Regions from separate parts of the Homo sapiens genome. Here region 2 is linked to region 1. The links are contacts of gene promoters, found by promoter capture Hi-C in human tissues and cell types (Jung and others, 2019). All regions are on one chromosome and are shown on one strand. Each heading gives the region's core, a stretch centred on a gene start or on the middle of the fragment in contact. The rest is flanking DNA. Distances are from core to core; before and after follow the strand shown.

Evidence for each region. Contacts are between HindIII fragments. The study calls those that stand out against the background at their distance.
Region 2: a contact is called between a fragment that was not itself captured here and the fragment with the promoter of TAF5L in region 1, in 1 of the 25 tissues and cell types used here (dorsolateral prefrontal cortex).

Annotation. Positions count from the first base shown.
Region 1 is chr1:229,624,620-229,627,735 of GRCh38, reverse strand. TAF5L (TATA-box binding protein associated factor 5 like) reads left to right here and starts at 1,614. Exons shown (of 5, transcript NM_014409.4): 1 at 1,614-1,851. It overlaps URB2 (URB2 ribosome biogenesis homolog), which reads right to left and starts at 1,489. Exons shown (of 10, transcript NM_014777.4): 1 at 1,380-1,489; 2 at 1-115. The coding sequence starts at 102. RefSeq lists enhancers at 916-995, 2,656-2,705 and silencers at 1,186-1,885, 1,976-2,165. The HindIII fragment of the contact is 5,407 bases long and covers 1-3,116 here.
Region 2 is chr1:230,092,914-230,096,075 of GRCh38, reverse strand. All of the region lies in intron 1 of GALNT2 (polypeptide N-acetylgalactosaminyltransferase 2), which reads right to left. Among named protein-coding and RNA genes, the nearest start is that of GALNT2, 27 kb to the right of the region's middle. The HindIII fragment of the contact is 6,338 bases long and covers 1-3,162 here.

The DNA of each region.
Region 1 (3,116 bases), core at 365-2,864:
CTGGTGAGAAATCCAAGCAAAGTGAGCTAGTTTTAGTTTATCTTCCCAGGAAGTTGTCTTGCTTTTAAGCTTAAGGGAAATGCCAGAATAAACAGCAGCCATGGCTAGGCTTTATCTAAAATTTAAAAACAATGGGAAAAAAAATACTATAACAATGTCAGACTGAGCAGGCACCAGAAAACCAACAGTATTGCAGTACTGTATCTTGTTTACCTAATATGTATTCTTTTAAAAGTTTTTAATGAATCAACAGATTTGTCGGGGTAAATCTACATACAAGATGCTTGACTCCAGAATTTTCTGGGGGAAATTCAGACAAAAGCAAGCAAAAGATGGACTGCACACACAGAAGATGGACTATATGTATTCCAGCTATGATCAAACATCACTTCCACAAAGGTGAGTGTTCAGGAATTCAACAAGGCCAAAATCAGTGATTACATTACTTGTGGAAAGAGTCATTCATACATGGTTTCAAATTGAAAGAGGAAAAGATACATAAGCAATATCCGGAGAAAGTAATATGTCTCCAAGTGAAAAAGAAAACCCCAAAGGAATACAGTTATTTCAGCTGCAACAGTAACCTTCCACTAACACTTTTATTCAGTCGTGTATAAATTTACAACGCACATACACTTCAAAAAAGACTCTACAAGAGATACTTGCACAAGGAAAAGACTAAAAATAGAAAACAAAAAACCATGAAATCTCGGGGGTAGCAAACATACCAAACACCTACAGTTACTATTAAACTGGGTAAACTTGGCTTTGAGTTTCCTAAAAGTTATAGTAAAAAGGAACGTTAAGACGTTTTCATTTTAGAAATTAAGTTATCCTTCACTCTACTGCAGAGAACAAGAACGTCAAGTGCTGTCAGTTTTCCTATTTTGTCAAAATGTCCAAAACGAATTCAACGATGCCTGACTTTCTAAGTTCAATACCATAGAACCGCCATCGCGACAGCTACAAAGTGCATAACAGGTGTTTGCTGAACTGGCTACAAAGACAACCGAGATGCTCTCCCCGGCTCCGCCAGAGTTCGGCTCTCCGGGCCTCCAACCGCCCTTACCGGGCAATGCGAAGTCCAGGGCGGACAGCACAGCCCTGCCAGCACTCCCTGCCCAGCAGAAAGAGACCAAGCAACAAGAACCAGGGGAGAGCAGCTAGGAGCCAGGAGGGAGTTCGCCTTCGCGAATGGAGCGTGCCGAAGCCGCTCCAGCCCAGAGTCTGCTGGCGGCACCGGAACTGGGCAGGGTTGGGGGGCCCCCCATCTGGGCCCGGCCTTAGGTAGGGGGATCTCCTCTGGACCAGCCCCGGGTGGGGGGACTCACCTCGGGACCTGGCTGCCCGCAGGGGCTGACCGCAGGTGGGGGACTCACCTCGGGATCCGGCCCGGTAGGGGGCTCAGCTCGAGACAGCTCCGGGTAGACAGGGGAGGACGGCGGCAGCGGCGGCGGCTGCTGTCCCGGTGCGGCGGAGGCCGCTGTACGGGTCCCGCGTCCCCACCACGTGGGACCGGTACCCGCGCTCCTTCCGCCGGACGCCGGCGGCGCAGCGGGGAGGGGCTGCACGCACGCCAGGCGTCGCCAGCCGAGCGCCGAGGCGCCTCGCCCATTGGCGGAGACGGTTGCGCGTTGGAGGCCCGAGCGGCCCAGCCCGCGGCCCGCTCCGTGTCAGTCAGTCATGGAGCGGCCGCCCAGAGCGGCGGCGGGGGCGGCGGGGCGCGGGGCGCGGGGGCCCAGCTGAGCCGGCCGTCGGAGTGAGACCCTGCGGCAGAGACGACGGAGGCGGAAGCAACCCGATCCCGGAGGCGGCGGCGGCGGGGGGAGCCGGAGCCGCCTGGGATGTTCAGTGAGTGCCGGGAGCACGGGCGGGGAGGGCCGGGAGGGTCGCGAGGCGCGCGCGCGCGCGGGCGGGCGGGGGCCGGGGCGGTGGGGCCTCGGCGGGGCGCGCCTTGGCTCCCGCCGGCGGGCGGTGGGGGTGGGGCGCGGGAGGCGGGGCTGGGGGGCGGCGGGCGGCTCTGCGCGGGCGCGACGGCCGCGCCTCCGCCCTCGGCCTCCCGAGTCCCGGGCTGCGGCCGGCGGCGTGGCCTGCAGTCGGCGGCTACACCTGGACTGGCGTCGCGTTCCTGCGCAGGGGTGGGTCCTGCGGGTTGGATGCCGGGCTCGGGGAGGAGGTGGCGGGCGCCCGCGGGGAAGGTATCCCAGTGCCCGACAGCCAAGCAGGGAGCACGGCTCCACAGCTCCTTTGCATGTAGGGGAAAAGGAAATGTCTTTGCGGCGAAGTCGGGATTCAACTTTGCACATGGTGATCGTGCGTGGGTGGGTGTGGAGTCGATCTCCGCGTGTGACACGGGGGAGCCAGAGTTAGACTAGCTGCTGCAGGAGAGTGCTTACCTGCAAGGGTGTCTCTCGGGGCTCGTTGCCTCATGACAGCAAGGTAAGGTTGGTGCGCCCATGGTGTGGGACGGGTTCACCACCTCCAGCTCGCGAAGCTGCCAGGCTTTTGAAAATGTATTCGATAAGGCGTTGGTCCGAAGTGAGTGGATGGTTAGAAACAGTGGTGTCATTTTAGACTTAGCGGAAGTGGAGTGCAGGAACGCTACATGCAGTTCTCCCATCAGTTGTGAAAGTCGTTGTAATGCGGATCTCGCAGTCTTTGTGGTTCTGGGATCAGAAGGTAAGTGCCAGTCCCATGCAGTGTCTGTCTTAAATTACTGTACCTAAACTGACCTTGCAGATTGGAATCTCGGAATGGTGACTCCTGCTAACAAGCAGTTGGGAGCTGTGCTGAGAGGAACATTAAGTGCGGAGCGTGTCTTATATCAGGCGATTCAAGTGTGCCAACACCTGAGTTGGGGATGTAGGGGAGGACACGGAGGCTGTGCCCCAGTTCCTGGTCACAGCTCTACTTGGAAGGGGGAGTAGGAAAGGGAGTTTTGTGCTTAATAGGTTAAATGCATCTGGCCACATCTTTAAACTTTGGAACAGCATAATGTAGTGGATAGAGCTTGGTGACAGTAGACCTAGGATGGAAACCATGTAGCCATCTGCATAACCTCTCTGAACTGTAGTTTCCTCATCTATAAAATGCGATGATAAGGAATAACTTAAACG
Region 2 (3,162 bases), core at 276-2,775, 470 kb before region 1:
CCAGCAAATGGCTCACTCCCAGCAGCCAGGCCCACAGCCCTGGGTTCATGGGAAGCAGGAGTTCCGGGTGCCATTCCTGCACAAAAGCCCTCCCAAAACGTCATGGCTTAAACAAGTTCTTATGTCCCATGGTGAGACCACAGGTGCCTCGCGGCTGGGGCTCTCTCACCTGTCTGAGGCCTTGGCCTCTCCCTCCCTCCCCTCCAACATGTCTCACCCTCCAGGCAACCCCACACGGTTTCTTTCTCCAGCAGAGCAGCCTGGACGTCTTCTAGCATGGCAGTTGGGCCCCAGGGGACCCAGGTGGGGCTACCAGGCCCCTCAAGGACAGAGCCTGCACCACGCCCAGTGTCACATCCACAGCAGTCTACTGGTTCAAGTTTGACACCAGACTGACCAGATTCACGAGGCAGGGAGGTGAGAAGTACATGCCCTTGGCTGGAGACTGTCTACCACCACAGGACACTGGAGTCACCAACCCCTCTACAGCCAGCCAACCCAGAAAGACGTTCCACTTCGGAACTCTTCAAACCTCATCTGGAGAGTGGATCCCAATACTGGGGCTCGTCACAGAGCAGCACACTGGGATGCTAAGAGCAGGCCTGGCTGAGGAGCCCGCAGGGGTGGGTCTGAATTCCCACTTCACCACTTCTACATGTGAGACTGCCGGCAACTCAACCTCTCTCCCTGACAGCTTCATCTGTAAAATGGGGATAATAAAAACGCCTCATGGAGTTTCTATAACGGATAGGTGAATTCACCCATAAAAGTGCGTGAAAGCAGGGGGTACATGGTCAGCATGTGGGGTTACTATTTTTACTCTGCTAGATGGGTCACCCTGAAGTCCACCCAAGCCACAGAAAGGACAGTGTCACAGCCCCGCGGGTCTGCTGCCACTGCCCACATTCTGCACTAGCTCTCCCTGCTTGTTGGGGTCAGGGTCGACACTCTCCCTGATTGCAGCTACTCTGTCTTAACCAACACAACCAGAGACAGAAAGGAACCGTATGAGGACCAGCAGACTCGGAGCAGAAGGGCCAGTTTGTAACAGCAGTGACAGTCCTGTGACCGTGAACTACGACATCATCGCGGCCCGTGCTTAGAGGTCCACTTGCATCATCTCCAATTAATCCTCACCCTCAGTAGGAGCTACGGCACATCTAACACAGGGAAGGCGAGGTATCGGAATCCGCTTCCTGTCTCTACGTGGGGAGATCATCCTCTTTGCAGACGTGTGGGAAGGATTAGGCAAAACAACACACAAGGGACCTAAGAAGATTCAAGGTAAGTGCCCCCACAACCTCTCTGTTTTCTCCCTTCCCCAAACTGTCTGGCTCTGTTTCTCTTGTAATAGTTTTAATTCTACTACATACACCCTTTTTTAATATCAGCTGTCCAGATGTGTTGGGAAAGCATATGGTGTTTTTGTTTTTGTTTGAGACGGAGTTTCATTCTTGTTGCCCAGGCTGGAGTGCAGTGATGCAGTCTCAGCTCACTGCAACCTCCGCCTCCCGGGTTCAAGTGATTCTCCTGCCTCAGCCTCCCAAGTAGCTGGGATTACAGGTGCCTGCTACCACGCCTGGCTAATTTTTTTGTATTTTTAGTAGAGAGGGGGGTTTCACTATGTTGGCCAGGCTGGTCTCAAACTCCTGAGCTCAGGTAATCCACCCGCCTCCCACCCGCCTCGACCTCCCAAAGTGCTGGGATTACAGGCATGAGCTGCCACCCCGGCCGAAAGCATATGTTCTTAAATATATAAAAATAAGGCCAGGCATGGTGGCTCATGCCTGTAATCCCAGCATTTTAAGAGGCCAAGGTGGGAGGATCACTTGAAGCCAGGAGTTTGACACCACCCTGAGCAACATAGCAAAACCCAATCTCTACCAAAAAAAAAAAAAAAAAAAAAAAAAAATTAGCCAGCATGGTGGCACACACCTGTATTCTTAGCTACTCAGGATGCTGAGGCAGGAGGATTGCTTGAGCCCAGGAGATCGAGGTTGCAGTGATGTTTGTGCCACTGCATTCCAGCCTGGGCAACAGAGCGAGACCCTATCTCAAACACACACACACAGGTGGACGAAACAGTATTATTACCCTCATTTAAGAAGGGATGAAGCTAAGGCTTAGAGAGATTAAGTACTGTCATGTGTTGCTTAATGACAGGGATACCTTCTGAGAAATGTGCCCTTAGGTGATTTCATTATTGTGGCAACATGATAGCATGCACTTACACAAAACGAGGTGGTATAGCCTACTACACACCTAGGCTGCAAACCTGGACTGCTTGTTACTGTACTGAATACTGTATGCAACTATAACATAATAGTATTTGTGTATCTAAACACAGAGGTACAGTAAAAATACAGTATATAATCTTATGAGACCACCATTGGGTATTCGATCTGTCATTGGCTAAAATGTCATCATGCTGAGCTTGACCGTACCTTGCCCACATGTGCAAGGCCAGTAAACGGCCCAGGGTGGATTCACAGCACTTATGAAAACCTTCCCCGTAACAACCACTCTGTGCTGCCTCCCAGGAGTGAAGCAGCAGGAAGCCCAGGGAACACAGCCCGCAGCCGATCTAGTTTTACCCTTGGCCAGGTCAGGACTGCAGAAAGCTAGCTACAGTCCATCGTTTTCTCCTAGAATTGCCTTTACACAACTGTGATCTAATGCTCCTCCTTCTGCTTCAGGTTTGATTTAAATAAACGGCCACGTGTGCATCTCTGCTTTTGGTTTCTGTTATTTCTCCCCCTGACGGACACTATTATCATGTTCAGTGCCCTTTAAGTTAATATCCACTAGATTCTTATCAAGCTTGAAGGCTAAGAAAATGTTTCTCTCTCTCAAGAAAATGTTTCATTGTATTATCAAATGAGAACTATGCAACCCAACATGCTTCCTTTCTTGCTTTGGCTACCAAGATACAATTGCACGTTCAACTGAAGGAGCTCCCCTTGGCTTAGTGTCAGTAGACGTAAGCTGAAATGTATAGGGGGACTAGAGCACAATCGGCCAGCACTTTGGGTTTCAGGTTCTTGACCTATAGATGGGGGTAACATACCTGCCACGCAGGATTATGCTGAGCATTAAACTAAACACAGATGGCAAACACCTAGCCAGGATCCGGCTCCATGGGGGTGGGTGTTCAGTGTTAAT